Regions from separate parts of the Homo sapiens genome. Here regions 1, 2, 3, 5 and 6 are each linked to region 4. The links are contacts of gene promoters, found by promoter capture Hi-C in blood cells and fetal thymus (Javierre and others, 2016). All regions are on one chromosome and are shown on one strand. The core of a region is centred on a gene start or on the middle of the fragment in contact, and the rest is flanking DNA. Distances in the headings are between cores, read along the strand shown. Region 1 overlaps LOC124904486 (a long non-coding RNA gene). Region 2 has its middle 16 kb from the start of LINC00260. Region 3 has its middle 21 kb from the start of CHIT1. Region 4 holds the start of OPTC (opticin). Region 5 holds the start of SNORA77 (small nucleolar RNA, H/ACA box 77). Region 6 holds the start of ATP2B4 (ATPase plasma membrane Ca2+ transporting 4).

Region 1 (4,891 bases), core at 866-3,365, 220 kb after region 4:
GTAAATCGTTTGTGTGATAGTGGCATTATTTCTTCTTTAAATGTCACTGTGACTTACTCTACTACCCTGAGGTCTGGTTCAGAAGTTCTGGTAAGAAGTTACAGGGTGATCCTGTGAGTTTGCATAGAGAAAGCACTCAGACACGGGCTGCAGGAACTGTGGCCACATTTGAGAGCACTTGAGCTACTGCCACACACTTCAGAATATCTGGAGGCAGGAACAGAGAAGGGGAGGTTGTGCATAGTATATTCCAGGCTCTGTGCTAGATCCTTTGCATCGGAGGCTTCAGTTAATACAAATTGTTTGTTGTAAGATAGCATTATCTCCAAGCCTAGAGAGGCCATGAGACTTGCCCGAGGCCAGAATCTAGTGTGGTAGAAGCTGCTAGTCTCCAATAACTTTCTACTATTTTATCAGGGTAAGAAAAGTTGTAGCAGGAAACATGGCTGCCCAGAATGAAGACTGCATTTCCCAGTCTCCTGTGTGGGTAGGCGTGGTCACATGACTGAGTTCTGGCCAAAGAGAAGTAAGTAGACGCGTTATGCAGCAGTGTCTGGGAACCTTTCTTAAGACACAGGTTGTGCATCTGCTGTCTGCTCCTTCTTCTTTGTCCCTCCCTCTGTTTTGCTACTTGGTAGGCAGGTGCTACCTTGTACCATGAGGGCAAGGGCCACTCAATAACAACACAATTGCTGCTGTTGTGAATTTTCTGTTACTCTCATTTCTACCTCATCTTAACTGAGATGCCCTGTGATAGAGTGGGGGATTTGAACCTGAGTCAGTCAGCTGTTTCTCAACACAATGCGAGGTTTCTGGGTCCCCTGTGTGCTCCTGCTGTACCTCATCAGCTCTTAGGTGTGAAGCATCCCTTAGAACTCTGATGAGGTGGCGTTGAAGGAGGGGAGCCACTCTAATGCAGCTTTTCGAACTCATCCATTCCAAAGATGGCTCAGGGCCTTTGCTAGATCCAGAGGCAGCTTGAGGGCGAAAGTCCAGGGCCCTGAGAGGGTGGAAGAGGTGACACTTCTAAGATCCAGGAAACCCCAGCCTCTGCCACAAGACTGGCTGCACAGCTACCCCTGTGGCAGGTGAAGGCAGTGCTCAGGTAGTCCTGGGACTCTTTCTAAACTTCTCTGGCCTGGCCCTCAATGTCCTCTGACAGACTCTAGCTTGCTGGGACACCTCTAAGGAAACTGCCAAGGGAACTGCAGAAGCAGGAGCAGGTGAGAAGTGCCCGGGTGTCTTCTTTCCATGGGGGAATTTGGAGAAGCATTCTGAGCCCAGCAAAGTGTCAGGCAGGCAAGGTAAGGCCTCACCTGATAGGAGGTGTATCCTCGTACCTAGTCTCAGCAAGGAAGGTTGCCAGCTTCATGGCTCTTTTGAGTTAAAAGGGCTGTAAGATCCTTGGTAAACGACCAGAGCCTGAATGTCACAGGGAAGAGGTTGGACTGGGACCCAATACAGCTGCCTATGTATCTGAGAAGACGCTATTTATAAACAGAGAAGGTATTTATTGGCTGGACAATCCTGAGGAAGTCTCCCACTTCTCACTCTCATTCATAAAGTGGGGATCATGATCACTACCTCTCAAGCTTACTGTAACATTGAATGAGGTAATGAATATGAAAACACTCAAAATCTATAAAGTATCTACAAACCTGGAAGATTATAATTCTGCATTTGTACAGTAGAAATAACAGTACCATGGTTGCTATTAGTGCCCAGCCAAATCCCCTTTACTGGTCTGGTGCAACCCTCCATCCCTGCCCACCGGCTGCTGTGAGGTTTGGCTGGTAACAGTTCACAGTTATTCCCTCTGCAGAGACTTCCCCGGGAATGGAAGCTGCCTTACTTGGGGCTTGCAGCCGATGCTTGTCTGACACAGGGGCAGGAAAGGCCAGTCCCCGACCTCAAGACAAGATGAACTCTGGTGTAGCACATGCTTCAGGGATCCCCATGAAATCAGGCCGCAGCTCAGCCACAGCTGACACCACAGCCTGGCTCCCTCCTTCCCCACCCCACTCTCCTTCCTTTTCTTTCTTCTGAGGGTTCTTCCCCAACAGAAGAAGATATGCATGAAATCTGTCCCAGGCTCTGCTTTTAAGGAATCTGGTCCACTTGTCTGCCGTACAAAGTTGCTATGAGGGTTAAATAATATAATACAGATGAAGAGATTAGCCCAGTGCCTGGCATATACAGTGCATATCCAATTAATGTTAAAGATTGCCATTATCCATGAGACTGGAGCATCAGGAACATCTTAGTGTAATAGTGAGGTGTGGAAATCTGGTGAGTGAGTCAGTGGATTGAATTTTACATGCTTAGGGACTGGGGTGGGCAGAGAGAAGGGCAGCTGGGTTTCCTTGGGTATCACTGGTTGTCTCAGCTTTGGGCAGTGAGGGTCCTTTACACAGCTAGGGAAAAGTTCCAGTCATTACATACTTCTACCAGCAGAGGACGCCACTTCCATACAAATAAGTGTTTCCTCTGCTATCTGATGCAGTTTTCATCAAAGCAGTCTAGGCTGGCAGGAAAGATCAGGTACATGACAGAGCAGAAAGTGCCTTCAGATTTGCACAGATAATAGGAGAGGGCAGAACAGGAAGAAACAGTGAGTTAAGCTGTTCAGGAAGCTTCGTGGGAGGTGAGGCCTTGAGCAGGGCACTCTAGCACCAGAAGGAGTATTGAGTGGAGATGGCATTCCCAGGGAAGCCACTACCCTAGGCAAGGTGACCAGGGCCTGAGCCAGGGCCGTGGCAGGGAGGCAGCCACGAGAGGGTATGAAGGACACCAAACACAGGGACAGGACTGATTTCAGCTGAGAGGTCTAGGAGGAGATCATGGGCCCACCAACATGGGGTAGACGTCAGGAAGGAGCACGTTTTTATAGGACAGAGCACACTTCTCCAACTGGTTTGACTGCCCTGTTACAATGTCCTCTGCAAGCCATCATTCTGTAGGATTCCTGTTTTGTGTGGATTCTAGAAACCAGTGAAATATTCAGAGGTGTTAATAGCATCAAGATTTCATTGGTTCTTTCCATTCTTTTTATTTTTATTTTTTGAGATGGGGTCTCAGTCCCTGCCCCAGGCTGGAGTGCAGTGGCACCATCACAGCTCACCACAGCCTCAACACCCCAGGGCTCAGGCGATCCTCCTGCCTCAGCCTCCTGAGTAGCTGAGACCATAGGTACGTACCACCATGCCTGGCTAATTTTACATATATACACATATATGTGTGTATATATAATTATATACGTATATATACACATATATACATATATAATTATATACATATATACATATATACACACACATATATGTGTATATATATACACACATATATATGTATATATACACATATGTATATGTGTGTGTGTGTGTGTGTATATATATATATATATATATATATATATATATTTGAAGAGACAGGGTCTCCTTACGTTGTCCAGACTGATCTTGAACTCCTGGGCTCAAGCGATCCTCCTGTCTCAGTCTCCCAAAGTGCTGGGATTACAGACGTGAGCCACCGCGCCTGGCCAGCTTTTTCCGTTTTGAGTAGAGACGGCAAGAAGCGCCCCACAGCTTGCCCTTGCTTCGGAACTCGGGGTTGTGAATCAGTCAGGATAGAAATTAATGGTGCAGTGGGAATAAAGAGGAATGTTAGATGATCTCGCAGGGGTGGGGGAGAACCCAAAAAGAAAGAACGAACGTGAAGAAGCCTAGCTCTCCGAGACTGGGGTTCAGTCCTTGCTGGAGAAAGTGCGTTGCAGCCCATTGAGGGCAGAAGAGTTCTCTGGGTTGTCCCTGGACAGAACCGGGCCACAGTCAAGAGAGCGAACATTGTGGGGAAGAGAACGGCAGGCCACGGCTCAGGGGCTGGAAGCCCCCTGCTGGGGTGCCCACAAAATTCCTCCGGAAGTTGCTGTTGGGGGATGCGCTGAACTCATGGCAAAGCCACCTAGGACTCACGCAGAACTTGCTGGGAAGCTGCCCCCGGGGAAGTGCGCATGCGGGACTTCGCAGGAAACTGGCTGGGTCAAGTCGGCTCCACCAGGAATCCACCCAAGACGGTGCGGCTGAACTCGCCACTGGGAAACTAAGTGGGACACCCACAGAACTAGCCGTGAAGATGCCTGCGGAAGTGCCCTGAAACTGAGCTGAGAACCCCGGGGGTTCAGAGTCCCGAAAGCAAGTAGGAAGGAAAGCTTAAAGAAACCGCAAGAGAAGTCTCTTCTTCTCTCTGTCCTCTAGCGCCCTCTACTGACACAGTTTAACACTGTGCCCGCTGGCAAGGGAGAAACGTTTGGAGCCAGAGAGTAATAAACTGGTAACTGGTACAGGATGTTAGCCAACTCCACTGAGGATGGGAGAGCTCTTCTATAAGCCCTTTTTGAAAAATAGTACTTGAGGACATAGTCCTGCCAGCTAAGAAACGAATCAAAATAAATAATTCAACAGAAAAAATGTAAAAGAAAAGGCAAAGAACAATCAAATCAATAAAACTAAATGAACGAAATAATTATAATTAATATAATATGAAACTAATCATTATTATTAAAATTAAATATAATAAATATTTCATGATTATAAATTGGGGTTTTTGTATCACAATTTACTTTGACAAAAACTGGGAGGTAGCAAAGAAAGAGTATACTATTAATAAAAAGTGAGAGGTGGCAAAATAGTATGCATGTATCTTATTGATCGATATGGCCTTATTCTTGATGTTAAGACATTTAGGCCGGGCGCGGTGGCTCACGCCTGTAATCCCAGCACTTTGGGAGGCCAAGGCGGGCAGATGGCCTCAGCTCACCAGTTCGAGACCAGCCTACGCCACACGGTGAAACCCCGTCTCTACTAAAATACAAAAAATTACCCGGGCCAGCCGC
Region 2 (4,579 bases), core at 1,184-3,683, 250 kb before region 4:
TGCAGTGGCATGATCTCGGCTCACTGCAACCTCCACCTCTCACGTTCAAGTGATTCTGCTGCCTCAGCCTCCTGAGTAGTTGGGATTACAGGTGCCTGTCACCACGACTGGCTAAGTTTTTGTATTTTTAGTAGATACAGGGTATTGCCATGTTGCCCAGGCTGGTTTTGAACTCCTGAGCTCAGGCAATCTGCCTGCCTTGGCCTCCCAAAGTGCTGGGATTACAGGCATGAGCCACTGCGCCCAGCAGGAATTTTTTATTTTTATTTTTATTATTTATTTATTTATTTATTTATTGAGACAGGATCTATCTTTGTAACCCAGGCTGGAGTGCAGTTGTGCAATCTCAGCTCACTGCAACCTCCGCCTCCTGGGTTCAAGTGATCCTCTCACCTCAGCCTTCAGAGAAGCTGGGATTACAGGCATGAGCCACCATGCCCAGCTAATTTTTGTAAGTTTAGTAGAGATGAGGTTTCACCATGTTGGCCAGGCTGGTCAGATGCAGGAATTCTTGACTTAAATAAAGGGTTTTGGATGATCATGGATATATTTGTTCTTCTCTTAAGCATGGTTAAAGGCAATCTGTAGGTACCAGTCCAGCTCTTCCCAGCCTTACTCCCTCTTTCAAATGAGTTATCATATATACTTGCTTTAAATAGGTGAAGACATGAAGATCTGGAGTTATAAAACACAAATCAGTCTTTCAATGCAGTCTTCCTGGGTCTAGCATAGCAAGAAAGCTTAAATCAATTGTGCTGTGTTTGGAAAAAGAATGTGCTAAAAGGAGATGGTCTATATGTCCTCTGTTATAGGAGACACCAGAGAAATCAAGTGATGCTTAAGCTTGAACACAGGGCCCAGTTCTATTCTAAAGTAGAGACAGGCCAGGCATGGTGGCTCATGCCTGTAATCCCAACATTTGGGAGGCTGAGGTGGGAGGATAGTTTGGGGCCAGGTGATTGACTCCAGCTTGAACAACATAGTAAGACTCCATCTCTTAAAAAAAATTACAGGCATGGTGGTGCATGCCTGTAGTCTCAGCTACTTGGAAGGCTAAGATGGAAGGATAACTTGAGCCGAGTCTAAGGCTGCAGTAAGCCTTGGTCATGCCACTGCTCTCCAGCCTGGGTGACAGAGCAAGACCCTGTCTCAAAAACAAAAAAAGGAGTAGGGACAGATATATGCCCTGTGAGTGTAATGGCACTAGCCACTCAGACAGTTCTATTATTTCCCCTTTGCGTAGAGTTCATGAGCAGAAGTTAAATTTCTGATTGTAATCTGGCTATCCAAATATGTAGATTATTTCAATTCTTTTTTTTTTTTTTTTTTGAGATGGAGCCTTGCTCTGTCACCTATGTTGGAAGGCTGGAGTGCAGTGGCGTGATCTTGGCTCACTACAACCTCCGCCTCCTGGGTTCAAGGGATTCTTCTGCTTCAGCCTCCCGGGTAGCTGGTATTACAGGTGCACACCACCACGCTCAGCTAATTTTTGTATTTTTAGTAGAGACAGGGTTTCACCATGTTGGCCAGACTGGTCTTGAACTTCTGACCTCAGGTGATCCGCCCACCTCAGCCTCCCAAAGTGCTGGGATTACAGGCATGAACCACTGCCTTCCGAGCTAGCATTCTTGTTTTGCCACCAGCCTTTTAGAAGGCAGCGGGAGGCCATTCTAAAGAGACTGATCTCTGTTTTGTGCATGTCTTCTGAGGACAGGGAGATGATGCTGGGCCAGGAAAGTATTATTTGAAAAGAGTCAGAGAAGTAAAGACTTGTTTATGATTGGTTGTACATCAGGACATAGGCAAGCCCAGAACCCAGAAGCTGCTACCTTTCAAGCTGAAAGCTTTCTGTCTATGAATCTAATAGGTCAGTACCTCTCATGGCTTAGGTTCATGGTGGAGGTAACTGGATGTTAATGATCCTGCACAGAAATGGTAACATGTTTACATGTATTATTTACAACAAAGCTTCACAATTATTTGTTGGTGAAGGACATGCCATTCTCATTCTCCTTCCTGCTTGTAGTGACAAGAAGGCCACGCTTTAACAAACCCAGGTCAGGGGCTGGTAAATATCTCACTGGAACCCAAGGAGTCATCTTCTTTGGATTCACCACAGAGTAGGTCAGGGAGTTGCCTGGTCATGTGTATACTTTGGGGGAACCAGGTGGGCTTGGTAGAGAGCTTCAAACTGATGACCGCAGGGAGACGATATGGACTAGTGGAGAAAGGGGAGACTCACAAACCATTACTGAAGATGGAGGGCAGGCTGGGCGTGGTGGCTTATGCCTGTAATCCCAGCACTTTGCGGGGGCCAAGGCAGGCGGATCACCTGAGGTCAGGAGTTCGAGACCAGCCTGGCTAACATGGTGAAACCCCGTTTCTTCTAAAAATACAAAAAATTAGCCGGGCATGGTGGCGCACGCCTGTAATCCCAGCTACTCGTGAGGCTGAAGCAGGAGAACTGCTTGAACCCTGGAGGCAGAGGTTGTAGTGAGCCGAGATCACACCATTGCACTCCCACTTGGGCAACAAGAGTGAAACTCCATCTCAAAAAAAAAAAAGAAAAAGAAAAGATGGAAGGCAAAGCTATTATTCTTTTCTAGAACTGGGGTAAGGGAAAAGAATGGAAGAACAGAGTATGCTCTTTTCCATACAGTGACCTAGGTCCAAGTTGCTGAGCTGGCCTTTACATTCTCTTGAGCCAACACCTTAGGATATAGTGGTCTCTGCCAGAATGATACGTAGGAGGTTCATTCTTCACCATTCCTTACCATATCCTGGGGTTAAGAGACGTGGATCCTTAAGATCCTCTGTTTGGCATGGCAGAGAGGCACAGATCTATGGTCCAACAAACACAAAGTGGGGGTGAGAGAAGAAATAGAGGGCCAAGCTTTAGAAAGGACCGTATAGGGGTTCATATGTGTTACATCCTTTTCAGCAAGAGTATTTAGGAGGGAAACTACAATGGAAAAAGCAGACTTTCTTTTCTTTCTTTTTTTTTTGAGACGGAGTCTTGCTCTGTTGCAAGGCTGGAGTGCAATGGCGCGATCTCGGCTCACTGTAATCTCTGCCTCCTGGGTTCAAGCAATTCTCCTTCCTCAGCCTCCCGAGTAGCTGGGACTACAGGCGCATGGCACCATGCCCAGATAATTTTTGTATTTTTAGTAGAGATGGGGTTTCACCATGTTGGCCAGGATGGTCTCGATCTCTTGAGTTTGTGATCCACCCACCTCGGCCTCCCAAAGTGCTGAGATTACAGGCGTGAGCCACTGTGCCCAGCCTATTTTCATTTTTGTTTGTTAAGTTCATTATTTATTCTCCATCCCCTATTTTAAAGAAACTAAGTGGGCAATGTGTTCAATGCCTGTGGAGAGCAACCTAGGACAGAAAAGAAAAGTGGGGATAAGATCTCAGATCATTTAAGTCTTTTTCTTTTCTTTTCTGAGATGGAGTTTCACTCTTGTTGCCTAGGCTGGAGTGCAATGGTGTGACTTCGGTTCACCACAACCTCTACCTCCCAGGTTCAAGTGATTCTCCTGCCTCAGCCTCCTGAATAGTTGGGATAACAGGCATGCACCACCACGCCCGGCTGATTTTTGTATTTTTGTTTGTTTGTTTTGTTTTTTTTGAGACGGAGTCTTGCTCTGTTGTCCAGGCTGGAGTGCAGTGGCATGATCTCGGCTCACAGCAAGCTCCGCCTCCCAGGTTCACGCCATTCTCTTGCCTCAGCCTCCCGAGTAGCTGGGACTACAGGCACCTGCCACCACGCCCGGCTAGTTTTTTGTATTTTTTAGTAGAGATGGGGTTTCACTGTGTTAGTCAGGATGGTCTCAATTTCCTGACCTCATGATCCGCCCACCTTGGCCCCCCAAAGTGCTGGGGTTACAGGCATGAGCCACTGCGCTTGGCTGAATTTATTTTTTGTAGAGACAGGGTTTCTCCATGTTGGTCAGGCTCGTCTCGAACCCCTGACCTCAGGTGATCCGCCTGCCTTGGCCTCCCGAAGTGCTGGGATTATAGGTATGAGCCACTGCGCTCGGACCTTCTTTTTTTTTTTTTGAAATGGAGTTTCACTCTTGTTGCCCAGGCTGAAGTGCAATGGCGTGATCTTGGCTCACCGCAACCTCTGCCTCCCAGGTTCAAGTGATTCTCCTGCCTCAGCCTCCGAGTAGCTGGGATTACAGGCATGTACCACCATGCCTGGCTAATTTTTGTATTTTTAGAAGAGATGGGGTTTCTCCATGTTGGTCAGGCTGGTCTCGAATTCCCGACCCCAGGTGATCCACCCATCTTGGCCTCCCAAACTGTTGGGATTACAGGCGTGAGCCACTGCACCCGGCCATAAGTCTTTTTCAACCAGGGCTAGATCCTCTTTCAGAGCCAGACTATTAAAATAGCCAGGAGAGTTTGGGGCGTTCTTCAATGTCATGCTTTTCCTAAAGGAATTTGGGGAGTGGACAAGGTCCTTTCCTCCTTATGATGTGTGTGTGTGTGTGTGTGTATTTTAGAGATGGGGTCTTGCCATGTTGCCCAGGCTGGACTTGAACTCCTGGGCTCAAGCGATCCTCCCGCCTCA
Region 3 (5,098 bases), core at 693-3,192, 240 kb after region 4:
GGGGCTTTAATCAGGAAACCACCACATGGTACTCATTAAAAGTAGATTGTTAAAACATTAAGAGGTTATGTTTCACGTAATTGCAATGGTTACCACAAAGACAGTAACTATAGAATGTAAGTGCTATGATTTGAATATGGTTTATCCCCCACTGAAATTCATGTTAAGGCTTGTTCCCCATGTAATGGTGTTGAGAACTGGTGGGACCTTTAAGAGGCATTTGGGTCATAAGCCATCTGTCCTTATGAAGGGATTAATGCCATTTCACAGGAGTGAATTATTGCTCTTCAGTGACTGGATTAGTTACCGCAAGAGTGGGTTGTTATAAAGTGAGGTCACCCCTCATGTTTTCTCTCTTGTGTGTGTACCCGCTCAGTGCTCTCACATGCATAACCACCATGTGATGCCATCCTCCATGTTATGACACAGCATGAGACCCTCGTCAGATGCAGCTGTTTGATCTTGAACTTCCCAGCATCAAGAACTGTGAGCTAAACAAACCTCTTTTTAAAAAATAAATTACCTGGTCTCAAGTATTCTGTTACAGCAACAGAAAATGGACAAAGACTGTAAAGGAAAGGAAGTGAGAAGGGAATCAAAATCTGTGGCCACAAAAAAAAATTAATGAAACACAAAAGAAATTATCAAAAGAAAAAAGGGGGGGGGGACAAAGAAAGCTACAAGTGAAACAGAACACAATGAACAAAATGGCAACAGTAAGTCCTTCACTATCAGCAATTTCTTAAAATGTAAATGCCATTATGAGCAATTATATGCCAACAATTGGATTTGGCAATAATTTCTTGGATATGATACCAAAAGCACAGGCAACAAAATAAAAAATAGACAAATAGTACTACATAAAACTTAAGTTTTTTTACACATCAAAGTAACAGTCAACAGAGAGAAAAGGCAACCTATGGAATGGGAGAAAAGAGTTGCAAGTCATATATCTGATAAGGGGTCAATATCCAGAATATATAAGGATCTTGTACAACTTAACAACAAGAAAAACCCCAAATAATCCAATTTAAAAACTGGCAAAGGATTTAAATAGACATTTCTCCAAAGAAGATATATGAATGGTTATTAAGTACATGAAAATATGCTCAACATCATTAATCACTAGGGAAATGTAAATAAAACTCACAATGAGATATCACCTCACACCCATCAGGATAGCCATTATAAAAATAACAGGAAATAACAAGTGTTGACAAGGATGCAGAGAAGTTTGGGTCCTCATGCACTGGTGGTGGGAAAGTAAATTATACAGATGTTATGAAAAACAGTATGGAGTTTCTCAAAACATTAAAAATAGAACTATCATATGATCCAGCAATCCCCCTTTTGGGTATATAGCCAAAAAGCTTCAAAGCAGATCTCAGAGATATTTGCACACCCATGTTCATTGCAGGATTATTCACAATAGCCAACAGGAGGAAATAACAGGTAATTGGATAAGAAAATGTGGTATATGCACATAATGGAATTTTATGTGCCCTTAAAAAAGGGCATGTTACAACATGAATGAAGCTTAAGGACATTATGCTAAGTGAAATAAGCCAGTCACAAATGGACAAATACTGTATAATTCACTCATATAAAGTATCTAAATAAGTCAGAATCCTCAAAACATAAAGTAAAAAGGTAGTCGCCAAGAACTTGCGGGAGGTGGGATGGGGAATTCATGTTTGGTAGGTATAGAGTTTCAGTGTTGCAAGAAGAAAAATTTCTAGAGACTTGTTGCACAAGTGAATATACTTAACAGTACTGAAATGTACATTTAAAAATGTTTAGGATGGTTTAATGTTGTGTGGTTTTTACCACAATACAAAAAAAAAGACTCAGCTAAGAAAACGAACAGGCAAAACCAAAGGCTGGTAGAAAACATTCACAGTACATATATCTGAATATGGATTTCTATCCAGAATAATAAAGAACTTCTAACACAATAAAAATGTGGATGACAGACTTGAGCAACATTTTCAGAAGCAAACAAAGACATATGAATGGACAAAGACATATAAAAAAAGTGCTCGACATCATTACTCAGCAGGCAAAGGCAAATTAAAGCCATAATGAATCACTACATGCCTACTAGAATGTCTAAAATTATAAAGACTGTCAACACCACATGTTGGCAAGCATTTGACATAACAAAAACTCTCACGTTGCTCTTGGATGTGTGAAATGGCACAATTACTTTGAAAAGTTGCTTGCTTGGTAGCTTCTTATTAAACATAAAGCTAGCTGATGACTCTAATTTTACACCTGTGTATTTATTCAAAGTAAATGAAAACATATGTCCACGAAGAGACGTATACATAACTGTTCATAGAAGCTTTGCATTTCTGATAGCCAAAACTGGAAATAACCCAATGTTTATGAAGTGGGATATATTCATAAAATACAATACTTCTTGCAATTAAAAGAAACAGACTACTGATAACAACAAAATGGATGAGTCTCAAAAACTTTATGCTGACTGAAACAAGCCAACATTAAAGAGCTCTCGGTGGCCAAAGCTGGAAAAATTTGAGCAGCAAAATAAATAATGTACTAATAGTATTTGATTATAACTCAAAACATAAATAAATATCTATGAGTCCATATGGATATAAATAAATGATATAGTAAATAAATGGGAGAGAAGGGACAAATGTCCCATACAGAATTATATAATAAAGGTATGTAGTTGCTTCTTCCCCAAGGAAGTGGAGCTTAACTCCTCACCCCTAGAGTGTGGGCTGCACTTACTGACTCGCTTCCAAAGAGTAGAATAGGGAAGCCAGGTGGAGAAGTAGAAACCTGGCAAATAGTATCCCGGCCTGGTAATCAAGATTAAAAAGATCAGTTATGTGGATAATACCTACCTTTTAGTTTTAGTTTTTTGAGACAAGGTCTCACTCTGTCACCAGGCTGGAGTGCAGTGGTAAGATTTCTGTTCACTGCAACCTCTGCCTCCTGGGTTCAAGCGATTCTCCTGCTTCAGCCTCCCAAGTGGCTGGGATTACACGTGCATGCCACCATGCCTGGCTAATTTTTGTATTTTTAGTAGAGACAGGGTTTCACCGTGTTTGCCAGGCTGGTCTCCAACTCTTGACCTCAAGTGATCTGCTTGCCTTGGCCTCCCAAAGTACTGGGATTACAGGCGTGAGCCACCACACCCAGCCTGGGGTGAGATTTTTATTCTATTCTTTAGAAGAATTTGAGAAAGTTTGGCATTTGGTAGAATTTGCCTATGAATCCACTTGGCCAGGCTGGTCTCGAACTCCTGACCTCAAGTGATCCCCCCAACCTTGGCCTTCTAAAGTACTAGGATTGCATGTGTGAGTCATTGCATCCAGCAGATAATACCTACATTTTTAATGAGATGTAATGAGGATGGCACTTCACCTCTGTGGTTTACCTCCCCAAAACATAGAACCCCTATCTAACCATGAAGAAAACACTAGACAAGCCAAAATTGAAGGACATTCTACAAAATACCTGACTAATACTCATTAAAACTTTCAAAGTATTGGAAAAGGTAAAAAGGAAAGTCTGAGAAACTGTCACAGACAAGAGGGGGCTAAAGGAGACACAACAACTAAATGTAATGTGGTATCCTAGATGGGACCCTGAATTGAAAAACGACATTAGGGAGAAAACAGTGAAATACAAGTAAAGCATGGAGTTTATTTAATTTAAAAAAATGGATTGAACTGCAAGGAAATATAGATGCATCTACAATCATAATGGGAGTTGTTTGTTTGTTTGTTTGTTTGTTTGAGATGGAGTTTTGCTCTTTCGCCCAGGCTGAAGTGGGGCGATCTCAGCTCACTGCAACATCTGCACCCTGGGTTTAGGCGATTCTCCTGCCTCAGCCTCCCAAGTAGCTGGGGTTATAGGTGTGCACCACCACGGCTAATTTTTGTAATTTTAGTAGAAAGGGGGTTTCGCCATGTTGGCCAGGCTGGTCTTGAACTCCTGACCTCAGGTGATCCACCTGCCTTGGCATCCCAAAGTGCTAGGATTACAGGCATGAGTGGGGCCCATAATGGGAGATTTTTAACACCCTTCTTTCAATAATAGATGGTTTAAGCAAGTATAAAATTAGTAAGGATATAAAATATTAAATAACACTATTAACAAATGACTTAATTGACACATTCTTTCAAACATCCATGAAACATTGACAAAAATTTACTATACATTCATTGAGCTGTGAAGCAAGTATGAACACAAAGGGTTGAAATTATATGGAAAACGTTCTCTGACCACAATGCAATTAAGCCAGGAATCACAACAAGAAAAGATGATTAGAAGATCCTCATATGTTTGGAAATTAAGAAATACACTTCTAAAAACCTTTTGGATCAGAGAAAAAAATCATCATGGAAATAAGAAAACATTTTGAAGCGAAATATTAGAAAAATATTGGAAATCAAAACCTGTGGGGTGGAGCTAAACAGGGCTTAGAGAGGTATTGCTAACATATATTAGATAAAAGAAAGATACAAACAATCTAAGTTAGCAGTATAAACAGGCGCATCATTATAGATCATAAAGCCACCAAAAAGATAACAGAAGGATATTATATAAATTAATTATATACAAATATATTTGTAAATTTACATGAAATGGACAAATTCCTTAATAAAATACAACTTACACAGGAAGAAATAAAAATGATGACTAGTCCTATAAGTAAAATTAATTAAATAATCTGTAATTTCCTCAACAAAAGTCCAAGTGGATTCGTAGGCAATTTCTACCAAATGCCAAACTTTCTCAAATTCTTCTAAAGAATAGAAGAATAAAAATCTCACCTCAGCCTGGGTGCGGTGGCTCACGTCTGTAATCCCAGCACTTTGGGAGGCCAAGGCAGGTGGATCACTTGAGGTCAAGAGTTGGGGACCAGCCTGGCTAACATGGTGAAACCTCATGTCTCCTAAAAATACAAAAATTAGCCGGGCGTGGTGGCACGTGCCTGTAATCCCAGCTACTCGGGAGGTTAAGGCATGAGAATCACTTGAACCTGGAAGGTGGAGGTTGCAGTGAGCCAAGATCGCACTGCTGCACTCCAACCTGGGTGACAGAGTGATACTCTGTC
Region 4 (4,962 bases), core at 2,023-4,522:
TTCCCCCGTCATGCTATTAATTAAGGCAGGGTGGCTTTGCTAGGGCATAAGGGAGTTCTTGCATTTCTTTGCTTCTTACTCAACTTGTACATTCAGGCAAAAGTATTAGGGACAGCCAGTGCCAGTCTTTGATTTCTTTTTTCCTGTTCTTACTGTGGCTATTTCCCCTTCTCTCCCTGCTAGTAAGGGTAGCCCTGACCCTCCATGCCCCAACCCCAACCACGTTCCACTTTGGTACCCCCTGGTGCTGGGTCATAGCTGCTTGGCCTATGACCTAGGGATATTGCGACCATGTGACTGTGCACTTACCATGGTTGGGCTGGGAACTCAGTAGCAGCCCTGCTGTAGTAGGTCTGGTCATCGTGGGGTTTGACGAGGGTGTCCCTGGAGCCGTAGTGCTCTTGGCGGGACTGATGCTGGTTGCAGGAGCGAGGCTAGTCACCTTAACCTGGAGATGTAGCACAGAGTACACAGTAGCCCAGCTTTTGCACAAAAGGGACTTAACTTTGGACTCTGGGAACCTCAGTGATGGATTTCAAACCAGCAAAGAGTCACTGTGGAGGAGGAGGAGGGAAGGATAGCAGAAAGACTGTGCAAAAAGGGGACCTGACAGAGCATCAGGTCCAGCATGTCCATCCTATGGATGAAGAAACTGGGGCCCAGAGAGGAGAGGGATGAGGATCAAAGAGCCAGCAGGTGGTCAAGGCAGAGACGAAACCTGCTCTCCCGATTTCCCAGGCCGGCACTCTTCCCCTGCTCCACACCGACCAGGCTCACGCACAATTGAGTAGGGGCTTCTGGGCTTGCACCCCACGCTGCTGCAGTGAAGGCCAAGAGGACCTGGGAAAGAACTTCAGACTGGAGGACAGTTTCAGAAAAGAGATGGGGGATGTGGCACTTTTATTTCCTAGAGAATATGATGAGGACATTGCGAACCCCTCCCCCAGTGAGACATAGCTTTGGCAGGGGGAGGCAAGTATGAGTTTTGAAGAAGGAGAAGTCCCAGGTTTGTGTCCTGTTTCTTAGTATCATCTAAGTGACAAGTCCCTATGGAGGGATAAGAATTTCCACCTCACAGAGAAAGAGGTGGAGGCTGGAGACACCCGCACTTTGGGGCAGATGGGAGGGCCCTGGCCTCTGACTCCCAGTGTCATGCAGGGAATGTAGTTGGTCTGCTGTGTCCCTCACCTCGGGGAGTTGGTCCCCATAATCTGTGAGCTCCTCATAGTTGCTCAGGTCAATGACTTCACCATAGTTGTCTGGGTTCAGGACATCATTCCGCAGAGGCAGAACTTCAAAGGAATCGCCTTCCCTGGGCATCTGCTCCTCTCTCCTCTTCCTCTCCTTCCTTGGGAGAGAAGCTGTCCCTGTCTCCTGCAGCACCAAGGCCAGCAGACTCAGGAAAGCCAGGAGCCTCATGGGGAGTCAGATGGGACTGAGAATCCCTTCAGCGGCTGGTCCTGGCAAGTGGGCACGAGGAAGGGCAGCGATCTGAGGGACAGGCTCTCCAGAGTGTTGTGGGAATGGCTCGCAGATTTACTCCACTTCCCACCCCCACACTTGCAGACTCAGTGCTCTCATCACATGCACAAATTCCCTACCAGCTGGGACTATGTCTTGGGGGGTATCTCCTAGCAGCCCCCTCCCTCCACCGCCCCACTTGAGTGTTTTTACACGCTCACCCAAACACTGATATTCACTCACAGAGGCATGTGCAGACACATCTCAACACAGACACATTCACAAGAGTCCCCTTGTTTACAAACGAGGCACACACTGGTGCATGCACACAGATGTCCTCTCTTAAACAACCCCATGCTCAGAACATGACTGCTAGTCACTAAGCTCGATTTAGAGAATGTCAACATCAAATAATCTTATGGGGTCTTTTTGTTTGTTTGTTTTTTTGAGACGAAGTTTCATTCTTGTTTCCCGGGCTGGAGTGCAGTGGTGCGATCTTGGCTCACTGCAACCTCCGCCTTCTGGGTTCAAGCGAATCTCCTGCCTCAGCCTCCTGAGTAGCTGGGATTACAGGCACCCACCATGCCTGGCTAATTTTTGTATTTTTAGTAGAGAAGGGGTTTCACCATATTGGCCAGGCTGGTGTCGAACTCCTGACCTTAGGTGATCCACCCACCCTGGCTTCCCAAAGTGCTGGAATTACAGGTGTGAGCCACCGCGCCCAGTTGACTCTTGTGGTTTTTTATAAAGATCATCCATTCATGCATTTGCTCAACAAACATTTATGGGTGTCTATTGAGTTCCAGGCACAGGACTTGTCTCTGTGGGTACAGAATGAATGAGGCACAGCCCTTCCTAGGAGCACCTAGTCTCTTTAGGAGACATGGACTTACAATGAAACATACAATGTAAAAAAGAATGTTAGTTTATGAAATATACTTCTAAATGCAGCTTTTTAGAAACAGATTATTACAGATAAAAGAGTTCTTTGTGTGTGATTGCATGAGTGTGTACGCATCTGGAAATTTCCTTAGATACCTGTGTATATTTGTGTGTGTGTGCACACAGATGCCTGCGTATGTATGTGATATGCATGTGAGTACAAATGTTCATGTAGTTCGTATATGTATAGACGGGTCAGGAAATGCATGTGGTGTGGTTTTGTATCCAGGCATAAGTGTATACAACAGTCATACCCAGTGTAGGCTTAACACAGCCCTCCCCAAAGCTAGCTGCACAAGTTTCTAGTAGACTCTCCCTCTTTCTTTCTTTTAAAATTTTTTTTATCTTTTAATTTTTATTTTATTTTCTATTTTTAAGACGGTGTCACTCTGTTGCCCAGCCTGGAGTGTTATGGCATGATCTCAGCTCACTGAAGCCTTAACCTCCTGGGCTCAGGCAGTCCTCCTGCCTCAGCCTCCCAAGTAGCTGGGACTACAGGCGTGTGTTACCATGCCCAGTTAACCTCCCCACCCTTTCTTAATTTTAGCTGGGCAAGGGGGCAAGCCTCTAGCAGTAGCAAGAGGTGTTTCTTCACCTTACCTCCCATACCTCACCCCAAACGAATTACATAATCTCAAAAAAAATTTTTCTAAGAGAGTTTAGTGCCCACCCAAAAGTCTTGTCCAACTTCTTTGGCCAGAGGCCTAAACTCTCTTCATTTTCCCTTCCCAATCCCCTGCCCCAGCCAAACACTTTGCCCTCATTTGCGCACCGATGGCCAGAGGCCTCAACCTTGAGCCTTACCCCTTCAATGCTTCTGGATCCTGGATGGAGAGCCCTGCAGCTTCCAGAAAGGTGGGGACTCTGGTGGAGGCTGTCTGAACTGGGGCTTGGGTTAGACAGTGGTGCCCGGGGGAGGGCAAGGAGTTGGCCAGGCCTGCGACCAATCAGACTTCTCATTCCTTCTGATGTCCAGCTGTTTCCCCTCCTCTTTCCTCAGGGGGTCCCCTGCCCCATTCCTGTATTTGACAAAAGAGAATTCTCCCCCCACCTTCCGCTTCACCCCCCACCTCCAGCTCCTGCTCTCTCTCCTCTTACTCTGTCAGCTCCTTCTTTCTTTTCCTTGTCCACTCTCCTGATAAGGCCACATCTTTGAGGAACAGGGAGTGCCATCCCCTGCAAGGAAGGGGCCCCATCCCTCAGATTCTGAGTCCTCAGAGAAGGCTGGAGTCGGGGGATATGGAGAGATAGAGCTTGTCTTTGCAGCTTCTTTCTCCAGCCAGAGAGTGACAAGGCTTCAGCTTCATAGCCAGAATCCAAAGATAAAAATAGGTGGAAATGAGGCACTTCACCCTCACCTAGAGCGCCAGCACAGAGACCATAATTGAATAAAATCACCAGAGACAGGAGCTGCAGGCCTAGGTAGTTCAAAGAGAAGGTGTATGGGGGATGAGATCGGATTTGAAAGCCAACTTCAAGTTCACAGATGATGATCATGAGGATACGGGAAATTCTCTAAATCTGCTAGGAGGAAACCAAATGGAAATTGGGAGGTGGGCCCTAGAAAGGATCATAAACACCAGTAGACATTGTGTAGGGTCTCGGGGGCCTGGGAAGTATCCTCTCCCGCACCCTCAGAGATGTACAGTCGTCCCTCAGTAACCATGGGGGATTGGTTCTGCACGTCCAGTGGATACCAAATCCACATATGCTGAGGTCTTTTATATAAAATGGTGAATTTGCACATAACCTACGCACATCCTCCTGTGTACTTCAAATCATCTCTAGATTACCTATAACACCAAACACAATGCTTACACCTCACTCCATTCACATGGATTCCACATAGTACTGGCACACAGCAAATTCAAGTTTTCCTTTTTGGAACGTTGTGAATTTTTTTTTTTTCTGAATATTTTCAATCTGTGGTTGGTTGAATCCACGGATGTGGAACCCACAGATACAGAGGGCCAACGGCATTCATCTGGAAACACTCCCCTTTCCTTGGTGCCTCGAGCAGGCTGCCGAGCAAGTCCTTGCTGAAGGCAGAGGTGGGGTGGCTAAGGAGTCTTCCCCAGCTTCTGCCAGCCTGTGCCCTGGCGCCCACCCAGGTTTCTCAGTGACTCTCCTTGTTCCCTACTCCTTTCCACCAACCAGATACTGAATTCCAGCTGTGAGGCCCCCTAAAGATCTAGTCCAAGTCCTTGTGGTATAGATGAGGAGAGTGAGGCCCAAAGAGGTGACGTGACTTGCCCTAGGTCACACAGAGCCAGGGCCAATGCCTAGATTTTTTGACTCCCTGGTCAGAGAGTTTTCTTTAGTTCATATGACCCTCCCCATTTCCACCTTCTTCCCCAGGAGTCCTGAATCCGTGTGTTTCCAGGCCCTCAGAGCAGATGGCTTGGCAGAACTCATCTCTGCCCTGGCACACCAGGTGAAGAGGCAGATCTAATAGCCTGGCCCTCGAGGGCAGCATTTGGCTTGCTGTGTTCCTGGGCTCCAGCTGGTGCAAGAGGGGGCTTCCCTCAGCCCAAGAGCCTGGTCACCAGAGAAGAGCAT
Region 5 (4,437 bases), core at 540-3,039, 240 kb before region 4:
GTAGGTAGGCTCCCTGAGAATGGAGCTCAAGAACCCAGTGGCCAAGCCCACTATCGAGAATGCTACTAAGTGCATTAATGCATTAGAGATCTGAAATGTCTGGCAGAAATGCTGACAGTAACTCGGCAATTAGACTGAGGGAGGGGGAGGAAGAGGTTTTGGTTGGTGGTGGTTGAAACAGCTACAGGTCGAGGCTTACACAAGTAGCCTCTGGTTTTCAGTGCCCTGTTCCTCAGAGACAGAGGCAATTAATGCCATTCATTTTCTTCCTTCCTTCCTTTTTTTTTTTTTTTTTTTGACACCCAGGCTGGAGTGCAAGGTGCGATCTCGGCTCACTGCAAGCTCCGCCTCCCGGGTTCACGCCATTCTCCTGCCTCAGCCTCCTGAGTAGCTGGGACTACAGGCACCCGCCACCAGGCTGGCTAATTTTTTATATTTTAAGTAGTGACAGGGTTTCACTGTGTTAGCCAGGATGGTCTCAATCTCCTGACCTCGTGATCCGCCGGTCTTGGCCTCCCAAAGTGCTGGGATTACAGGCGTGAGCCACTGTGCCCAGCTTCCTTCCTTCCTTCCTCCCTCCTTCCTTTTTTTTTTTTTTTTTTTTTGAGACAGAGTCTCGCTCTGTCACCCAGGCTGGAGTGCAATGGCACGATCTTGGCTCACTGCAACCTCCATCTGCTGGGTTCAAGCCATTCTCCTGCCTCAGCCTCCTGAGTAGCAGGGACTACACGTACCTGCCACCATGCCCAGCTAATTTTTTTATTTTTAGTAGAGACAGAGTTTCACCATGCTGGCCAGGCTGGTCTCGAACTCCTGACCTTGTGATTTGCCTTCCTCAGCCTCCCAAAGTGCTGGGATTAAGGTGTGAGCCACCGCGCCCGGCCATGCCATTCATTTTCTGACAATGGTCCTGATCTAGGGCCTCAATCAACTCTACCATCCTTATCCCTGACCCCTAAGTAACAAGGACAAAATCAAAAGGAATTCCCTTTAGCCTTCATGAATCTGGTAGAATAATCTTAGAAATATCTATCTGCTTAATGCCAAGGGTTAATCTACCAGGAATGAAGGAAAGGTGCTGATTCCATTAACTGGACTTCATTTTCCCAGGAGGGAAGATGGGAAAGTAGGCAGAATGTGAGTGAGACAGTCCTTTTATAAAGCTTCCTGAGAAGCCATGAGCTGTTTAGGGCTAGTTTCTGGATCCAGATCACAGTTTGAGCAGAAACATCACTGCTTCCTCACATTATTCAGTTTTAGTTCCCTGGGACTGAGGAGCTTGAACCTGCAGGAGGAGAGGGTTTACACTTGGGGTGGGTGCGGGGGTTCCAGCTCCATGGAAGAAGGGACTGTAGAGACACCTTCTTCAGTGCTTATTGGAGTTACAAGGTCCCAACCTCCACAATTCTAGTCTCTAAGTTTTCTAACACCTCCCATACCAAAGCACTGCGATGAGAATGACAACAAAGATCAACGTGGAGGTGGCAGGGGGTTTTGTTAGAACCCAGCTGAGGCTGAAGGGCTGATGTTGGGAGCGGACCTCAGGGATCCAGGATACACGTTAGCATCATTAGCCTCATCAGCTTCCAGAGTCAGGTGCATCCTGGATGGCGTGAATTTGGTCACTGTGGCATCTTGAACATGCCTCACTTTAGGCTTTAATGCCATTTTGGCCCAACTGCCTCATGCTCCAACAATGCGGAAAGGTAGTATACCTAAAGCTATGTAGGCAGTGAAACCAAAAAGACCTTGTAGAGAGGGGCATAGTCAAGGAAATAGAAATTGGTAGTGGAGGGCAAGGAAGACCCATAAATCTCAGCCTCCCAGGACAGAAGACTGGAAAGGAGCAAGGAGGTACTGGACTGAGGGAATCTTGGCTAGGAGAAAAGAAATCACATAGTAGAAGTGGTTGATCCTGAAGAAAAACAAAGCAAAGACAGGTTATTTTGGAAAGAGCAGACCCAAAGGAAAGCACTGGGGGCTTTAGAGATGGGAGCCAAAGGCGCCAGGTTCTATGGGTACTTGGAGTCAGCAGCCTGGAGTGTGGGGTGGGGTAGGGAGTGAGCGTGGGGATTCTGGATGCCTGGATGCCACGAGGCACTTTGTGTAGGTCCCGCTGGAAATTTTCTTTCTGAGAGGAGGAACTTGAGAGAGGGAAAAGGAACCCTAGCGTTTCCCTACCTAGCCCTTTTCCACTTTTCTTTTTCTTCTTTTTTTTTTTTTTAATTCAGCTCTTCATATAACATCCCTTGTAAAAACAAAAGAATAAAAACAAACCAAAAAAGAGGGGCAGGGTAAATTTTTTTTTAAAAAAAGGAAAGGAAAGAGAGGAAAAGGAAATAAAATAAGACGATTTATTGTTTCTCCTCAGCATCCTCCTTGGTCTCCTCCTTCACTGAGAGACCTTCAAGCTTTTCTGCCACTTTTTCGGCATGATTGTTTTTGCCTGATCCTGGCCAAGCCGTCTCCTGGAGTTTCTCTTCTTGAAACTCAATGACCAAAGGAAGCCAAGTGGATGCATCCAAGCACCACCTAGACCATGGTCAGGCTGCTCAGTGACATCTGGTCACTTGCCACCACAGCTGCAGTCCAGCCTCACAGCAGAGGGGACCAAGCCCTCTGAGAGACAAACCAAGGACCACTGTAAAGCACCTTCTGGTGAGCTCCAGGCAGTGCCCGGACTCCAATGCCTGCCCAATTGGATGTGAGGCCAGCAACACGGAGAAGTGCTCAGGGCTCCCCAGGAAGCACCTGTGTCCCCAGGGAGCTGCATCGCCCTGGATAGGTGAGGCAGCCACAGCACCCTGGAATGTTTCTCTGGCAGACAGAAAAAGCACCTGCCTGGAAGTACAGTCAGGTGCATAGTGAGTCTGCAATCCACTTTTCTTCTTCTTTTTTTTTTTTTTTTTTGAGACAGAGTCTTGCCTTGTTGCCCAGGCTGGTGTGTAATGGCGCGATCTCAGCTCACTGCAACCTCAGCCTTCCGGGTTCAAGCGATTCTCCTGCCTCAGCCTCCAGAGTAGCTGGGATTACAGGCGCCCACCACCACGTCCAGCTAATTTTTGTATTTTTGGCAGAGCCAAGGTTTCACTATGTTGGCCAGGCTGGTCTCGAACTCCTGACTTTATGATCTGCCAGCCTCGGCCTCCCAAAGTGCTGGGATTACAGGCGTGAGCCACCGCACCCGGCCTCTTTTCCACTTTTCTATTTGTTGTCTTGCCTATAGGGGATAAGTTCCTACCAGGTATATAGTTTAGAATATTCACTCCATCTATCTCTCCTATACACTAACGAGGTGGGATTGACTGGGGAACTTCTTTTCTTTCTCTTTTTTTTTTGAGACAACTCTCAATCTGTCACCCAGGCTGGAGTGCAATGGTGTGGTCTCAGCTCACTGCAACCTCCGCCTCCTGGGTTCAAGCGATTTTCCTGCCTCAGCCTCCCAAGTAGCTGGGACTACAGGCATGTGCCACCATGCCTGGCTTGTATTTTTAGTAGAGACGGGGTTTCACCTAAGGCAGGGGATCCACCTGCCTTGGCCTCCCAAAGTGCTGGATTACAGGTGAGAACCACCGCGCCCAGTCTTTTTTTTTTTGTGAGACAGAGTTTAGCTCTCGTTGGCCAGGCTGGAGTGCAATGGCGCAATCTCAGCTCACTACAACCTCTGCCTCCCGGGTTCAAGTAATTCTTCTGCCTCAGCCTCCCGAGTAGCTGGGATTACAGGCATGTGCCACTACGCCCGGCTAATTTTGGATTTTTAGTAGAGACGCGGTTTCTCCATGTTGGTCAGGCTGGTCTTGAACTCCCGACCTCAGGTGATCCACCCACCTTGGCCTCCCAAAGTGCTGGGATTACAGGCGTGAGCCACCATGCCTGGCCGACTGGGGAACTTTCTAAAACATTTGCAAGGCCAGTTTTAGACAGTGAAACTTATTTTGAAGATCTCTAGCCAATCAGCAGAGAGAAATACGCCTGTTTTCTGGAGACCACCCTTGAGATCTTGGAATTTACAGTGTTTTTGAAATGGAAAATCTCAGGATTAAAACAATAAAGCTATGGGGGGTGAGAGCAGGGGAAGACAGAATTATCAATGCTTAGATCAGCGCATTCACCCAGGAGAAAGTAGTTACAATTGATGCATGGAAAGTGGAAAAAATAAAAGTTATTGTGGGGCTATAGACAGGGGACATAAGAGCAGCAGGGGTGGCTTCTATCCCATTTCAGAAATTGCAAGAAGGGAAGAGGCTTGAAGAAATTATTGCTTCCTCCTTGTCAGGAAGCAAGTCTGAATCCTGCAAAAGATGCTCAGACATCAAGAGACTATTGTCATTTTTACACATGAAACCATCAGATTCCCCACCATGGCCTTACACTTTGAATGGGGGAGATATAACAAGGTGAGTTTCTTTTACAAAGACCCTTCCAGATAGCATCTAT
Region 6 (5,031 bases), core at 1,053-3,552, 130 kb before region 4:
ACTCCCTGCCAGACTCCTCACACAGAGGAGGGGGGCGCTGCAGAATGGGATTTTGTTTCCCTTCCCTCCCCCACTCCTTTCCCCTCTCCACAGGGGCCTCAGTTGAGTACCGGCCTATTTCTTCATCTGACATTCCCCCTGCCCGGCCAGCAGGCGCCGGCATCACGTCTGCAAGTTATTGTTAAGTCCGGCAGGAATGCCCAGGAGGGACGTGCCTCTGGCAGCAGAGTGCCCACTCCCCTCCCAAGATGCGGCTGGCCACTCCTGCACCCTCCACACCCAGTTGGAGAAGAGCGGCGGGTACCCTCAGGGAGGTGGAGGAGTGTAAGAGGCCAGACTCGACTCGGGGAAGGATGCCAGCAGCCCCCTCTACCAAGAGCGAGCCAAGTATGTAAAAGAAAGAGAGAAGGGAGAGCAGGAAGGACAATCCCAGTCTTAATTCCTAGCTCTTCAGCAAGCCAAGGCAGTGGCCCGAGACGCTCAGGGATCCTTCCACAGATGCCTGTGGCCCACCCCATCTGCCAAACACTCACCAGCCCCACAGTGTCCAGCCTCGACATCGGAAACTTTTCAATTCACCCTTCTCCTTCCTCCCCTTTGGGACCAGAGATGTGTGGGGCGGTGCCCTCGGAGACACTCATACAGTTGGTTCTGGACGCTCACACACACTCAAACAACAGCGGTACGAGGTAACTCCCAGCTTTTTCCACAGCTAATTATACATGTGAAAGTCTGAGGATGTTTTGCAAGCAGCACAGAGAAACTGCTGAGGTTTCTCTGCAAAGCTAAAGAAATTTAATTCGTGCACTCTCCTTCCCCACTCCTGCCAACTTCTCCCAGCCCACCTCCACCCCATGGCCCCAAAGTGCCCCTCTCCTAGTTCCCGCTGCAGCCCCTCTTTCTGCTGAAGATTTCTTTGGTTCCTTTTTTTTTTTTTTTTCCATCTCTCTTTTGGGCTTTCGAGAAAGGGAACAGACACGGAAAATATTTTTGCAACAGTTTTCCATCCTGCGTCTCATTCCCAAGCCAAGGGGGGAAGGGGAGGGCAGGAACGGAATGGGTTGAGGGAGGGGAGATAAATATTTTTTCCAAGAGCTCAATTTTGGTGTCAAAAAGAGAACCCTCCATTACCCTACCCCATAGCCCAGGAATGACAAGAACTAGGAAAAGAGAGATAAATCACTTGTTCGACTATATGGTTTCTCAGAACTGATAATAGGTAAAACAGTATTTGACAAATCTGTGCACACACACATATTTTAAAAAAAATCCTCCAAACCCAGTCGCATGAAATATTCTAGAAAGAGGAAAATCGGGGAGTTTTAGAAGCCATTGAGAGAAAAGAAAGAAACAAAGTTTGCAAATCACAAGTCAATTCATTCTCTGCAAGCCTACCTCTCTTTCTAGCAAAGATCCAGGTTTCTTCAGGCGGGACTCTCCCTCCGGGTTTCCATGGATGAGGGTAGGGTGGGGTGACCACCCACCAGTCTCCCCAGTGTGGCAACCAAGCTAGAGACGCTGGCTTTGCTCTCTTGCCTTTCTGGCTAAGGCCGGGGAGTGGGCTGGGTCTCCTCCCCCTGCCCCTCCAATGGGAAGGACCTCTCAGGTTCCTGAAAGAAAAAGGGTGCAGGAGAGCTGGGCGGGTGTCTCTGATCTTGCTCTCTTCGGAGGGATGGTGCCCCACGAAGTTCGTGCCCCCCCTCCCAGCCCCCAGCTTTGGACGATCTCAACAGCAGAGCTTTCTTAAGAAAATGCTTGTCATGGCAACAGCTCTAGCTAACTCGGGCCAGACTCTTGCTCACCAGCTCTCCCCAAGCAGTGCGGGAAGAGAGAGGGGAGGAGCAGGAGCTGGAACAGAGGTGGGACTTGGCGCGAGGCCAAACCATTACTCTACTGTTAAGGTGGCCCGATTCTTGCGGTTACTTCCTGGTTCGTCTTAAGGGGGAATGGGAAAAGAAAGGGAAGCAATCCTCTCCCCTGTCGGCTTTCTTCCCCGCCCTTGCTCTCACTTGTTGAATAGAAAGCTGAGTAGGGGTGGAGGAGGGGTGAGGGTGGAGGTGGGGAGTGGATGTGGGTGGCGGTATTCAACGGTTGCTGGGCGGAGGGGAAAAAAAAGGAAGCTTGGGCAGGCGGCTGGCTTCCTGCAGCTCCTACGGGCCTCTCAACCCCTTACTCACTTAGATCCAGGACCCAGAAACCCGAGGTGTCTGTGGACACTTGTATGTCCCCTCCTACCTTCCTGCTCCTGTCTGAATAGGGGGTTCCTTGGAGAAGGAGAATAAATTGTTTTGTAAACACACACACACACACACACACACACACACACACACACACACACACACCCGTCCTCCCCTACACCTTATATACAGGTCACATTTTGTTCCCTCTTGTCCCTGTACCCACCAGAGGTATACTGACAGTGCATGAAAATAGCTGCTTACTTTTGAGTCCTGCTATGCGTGGGCTATGACACCAAAAGCTTTGTCTATATGGTATCGTTTCTAGTCCTCATTTAATCTTGAAAGGTACTTATTATTAACCTCATTTCCTAGTTGAGGGAATTGAAGATTGAGTGTCTGGCCCAAGGTTATACATCCGGCTAATGACAGAGCCAACGATTCAAGACCAAGTCAGACAGACTCCAAAGCCCGAGTACTTTCCTGTACTTTGTATCATACTCCGGCACATATTTCCGTTTTAATTTGCACACACTCAGACATCCATGCACACTTATACACAGCCTGTAAACAGTTAATCACACCCCCATACCCACACACCCACTAGCATTGTGCAACAGTGCCACCCATAGATTTTGCATAGAACTTTATGGCTTTCAAGCACAAACATGCACCATCAGCTGGTTCACACAACATATCTTCATTGACTGACAGATTCCCACACCTACCTCAGCAAACACACTCATGTTTATATGCTTATGGAAGGCACATTGACATATGTCTCACAGGTTATAGCTATGAGCTATGCTGTGAAGAAGGTGACTGGCCACTACTTCCCAACCTTTTAAACAGAGGGTTGGGAAAAGGCCTCTTTGATCCTATCATTCTAACCCAACAGCTCACACCACCCCCTGTCCTTCTTTGCTGTCATCTCTGCCCCCAAGAAGCAGAGCCACATGTGCATGGAGAAACAGGGTTGTGAAACGGGGTCCAGTTTCCCCCGTGTCCAACTAGCACCCTTCCCAATGTTCTCTCATTTGGGTCCTCTTTTTCCTCTTCATTTTCTTACCCTGCTATTTCTTTTTTCTTTATGGTTTTTTTTTTTTTTTTTGAGACGGAGTCTTGCTCTGTTGCCCAGGCTGGAGTGCAGTGGCGTGATCTCGGCTCACTGCAAGCTCCGCCTCCGGGGTTCACGCCATTCTCCTGCCTCAGCCTCCCGAGTAGCTGGGACTACAGGCCCCTGCCACCACGCCCGGCTAATTTTGTTTTTGTATTTTTAGTAGAGACGGGGTTTCACCATGTTAGCCAGAATGGTCTCGATCTCCTGACCTCATGATCTGCCCGCCTCGGCCTCCCAAAGTGCTGGGATTACAGGCGTGAGCCCCCGCACCCGGCCAGTAATGTTTTTAGACTGGTTGGGCTGGGCTCAGAACTCAGAGTTCATCAATGTGAGGCTGGAGATTGCCTGCTGTCATCTGAAAACAAAATCCAAAATAAGCCCTGGCTAGGCACAGTGGCTCATCCGTGTAATTCCAGTACTTTGGGAGGCTGAGGAGGGAGGATCACTTGGGGCCAGATTTCAAGACCAGCCTGGGCAACATAGCAAGACCCACCCCATCTCTACAAAAAAATTAAAAACAAGAGAAAAAAAATAAGCCCCTGCCTGTGCTTGTGCCTCTCCCTGCCAGCAGCCGAAGAAAGTTGCAGGGGTAAGGGGAGATTTTAGGGTCACCCTCTATGGGAACTATGGATTGTTTGGTCTTTTTTGTCTAGTGATTGACTGTCTGACACTCAAGGCACTTACAGGACACTAAAGGTGACCTTTGTTCTCATTTCAGCCTCTTGCAACTCCTCTAGTCACTCCCACCTTCCCAGGGCATTTCAAGAACAGTTAGTACCTTGTTAGATTCCTTCCTTCCTCCCTCCCTCTTCCCTCCCTCTTCCATTCCCTCCCTCTTCCCTTCCCTCCCTCTTCCCTTCCCTCCTTTTTCCCTCCCCTTCCCTCCTTTTCCCTCCCCTTCCCTTCCCTTCCCTTCCTTTCTCCCTTTCTTTCCCCTTCCTTCCTTCCATCTCCCTTCCTTCCTTCCCTCCCTCTACCTTCCTTCCTTCCTCCCTCCCTCTTTCTTTCTTTCTTTCTTTCTTTCTTTCTTTCTTTCTTTCTTTCTTTCTTTCTTTCTTTCTTTCCTTCCTTCCTTCCTTCCTTCCTTCTTTCTTTCTTTCTTTCTCTCTTTCTTTCTCTTTCTTTCTTTTTCTCTTCCTTTTTTCCGTCCTTCCTTCCTCTCTTCCTTCCTCCCTCCCTTCCCTCCTCCCTTTCCTTCCTTCCTTCCTTCTTCCTTCCTTCTTTTTTTTCATTATGGGTCTCCCTGTGTTGCCCAAGTTGCTTTTAAACTCCTGACCTCAAGTGATCCTCTCGCCTCAGCCTTCCTAGAAACTGGGACTACGGGCACACCCTACAATGCACAGCACCCTTGTTAGATTTTGGTAGACCCTAGCAAAATATCAGCTTCAGGAGCCCAAATCAATTGTTGGGGAAGACATGAGAAAGAAAGGAAAAGAAATGAATCAGCTTAACAGAGCTGCAGATTTAATGGCTTGTCAGGCTCCCTGCTGGATGGCAACAACATGACATTTTAGCACCAATGAGTGTCAGTTGCATCTTTATCATAAGAAAGCCAGTCTCTGAAATGACTGTTTAAATGTATTAAAGTATATTTTAAGCTCGTCTGCAGTGGCTGTGTGTGGAGGCATTGCCTAACTGTTCAGTAAACTTGTCTTGGGGGAATGACAATTTAGGCCAGATGTATGGTCCCAATAAAGAAGAAGTCTGCTTTGGCTGCCTGTTTTGTGGGGACTG

Evidence for each region. The method cuts DNA at HindIII sites, captures the fragments that hold promoters and counts their contacts. A CHiCAGO score of 5 or more calls a contact.
Region 1: a fragment that was not itself captured here is called in contact with the fragment with the promoter of OPTC in region 4 in 15 of 17 cell types (naive CD4 T cells, naive B cells, total CD8 T cells and 12 more); the score reaches 26.3 in naive CD4 T cells.
Region 2: a fragment that was not itself captured here is called in contact with the fragment with the promoter of OPTC in region 4 in 4 of 17 cell types (M0 macrophages, M2 macrophages, M1 macrophages and 1 more); the score reaches 6.7 in M0 macrophages.
Region 3: a contact is called between a fragment that was not itself captured here and the fragment with the promoter of OPTC in region 4, in 10 of 17 cell types (naive B cells, naive CD4 T cells, activated CD4 T cells and 7 more). The highest score is 9.1, in naive B cells.
Region 5: a contact is called between a fragment that was not itself captured here and the fragment with the promoter of OPTC in region 4, in 2 of 17 cell types (M0 macrophages and endothelial precursors). The highest score is 6.9, in M0 macrophages.
Region 6: a fragment that was not itself captured here is called in contact with the fragment with the promoter of OPTC in region 4 in 4 of 17 cell types (M0 macrophages, endothelial precursors, M2 macrophages and 1 more); the score reaches 8.6 in M0 macrophages.

What each region holds. Positions count from the first base shown.
Region 1 is chr1:203,266,816-203,271,706 of GRCh38, reverse strand. It overlaps LOC124904486 (a long non-coding RNA gene), which reads left to right. Exons shown (of 2, transcript XR_007066798.1): 2 at 1-4,593. Among named protein-coding and RNA genes, the nearest start is that of LINC01353, 18 kb to the left of the region's middle. The HindIII fragment of the contact is 1,041 bases long and covers 1,595-2,635 here.
Region 2 is chr1:203,744,753-203,749,331 of GRCh38, reverse strand. No RefSeq gene overlaps it. Among named protein-coding and RNA genes, the nearest start is that of LINC00260, 16 kb to the right of the region's middle. The HindIII fragment of the contact is 925 bases long and covers 1,971-2,895 here.
Region 3 is chr1:203,248,089-203,253,186 of GRCh38, reverse strand. No RefSeq gene overlaps it. Among named protein-coding and RNA genes, the nearest start is that of CHIT1, 21 kb to the right of the region's middle. The HindIII fragment of the contact is 808 bases long and covers 1,539-2,346 here.
Region 4 is chr1:203,492,463-203,497,424 of GRCh38, reverse strand. It overlaps OPTC (opticin), which reads right to left and starts at 3,272. Exons shown (of 8, transcript NM_014359.4): 1 at 3,208-3,272; 2 at 1,189-1,460; 3 at 310-448. The coding sequence starts at 1,419. RefSeq lists a silencer at 3,551-3,779. The HindIII fragment of the contact is 16,129 bases long and covers 1-4,962 here.
Region 5 is chr1:203,728,018-203,732,454 of GRCh38, reverse strand. The region is part of intron 20 of ATP2B4 (ATPase plasma membrane Ca2+ transporting 4); the gene reads right to left. It overlaps SNORA77 (small nucleolar RNA, H/ACA box 77), which reads right to left and starts at 2,874; the gene lies at 2,750-2,874. It overlaps LINC00260 (long intergenic non-protein coding RNA 260), which reads right to left and starts at 1,878. Exons shown (of 1, transcript NR_046213.1): 1 at 602-1,878. The HindIII fragment of the contact is 1,248 bases long and covers 1,166-2,413 here.
Region 6 is chr1:203,623,584-203,628,614 of GRCh38, reverse strand. ATP2B4 (ATPase plasma membrane Ca2+ transporting 4) reads right to left here and starts at 1,783. Exons shown (of 21, transcript NM_001684.5): 1 at 1,396-1,783. RefSeq lists enhancers at 1,042-1,914, 1,915-2,789. The HindIII fragment of the contact is 359 bases long and covers 2,123-2,481 here.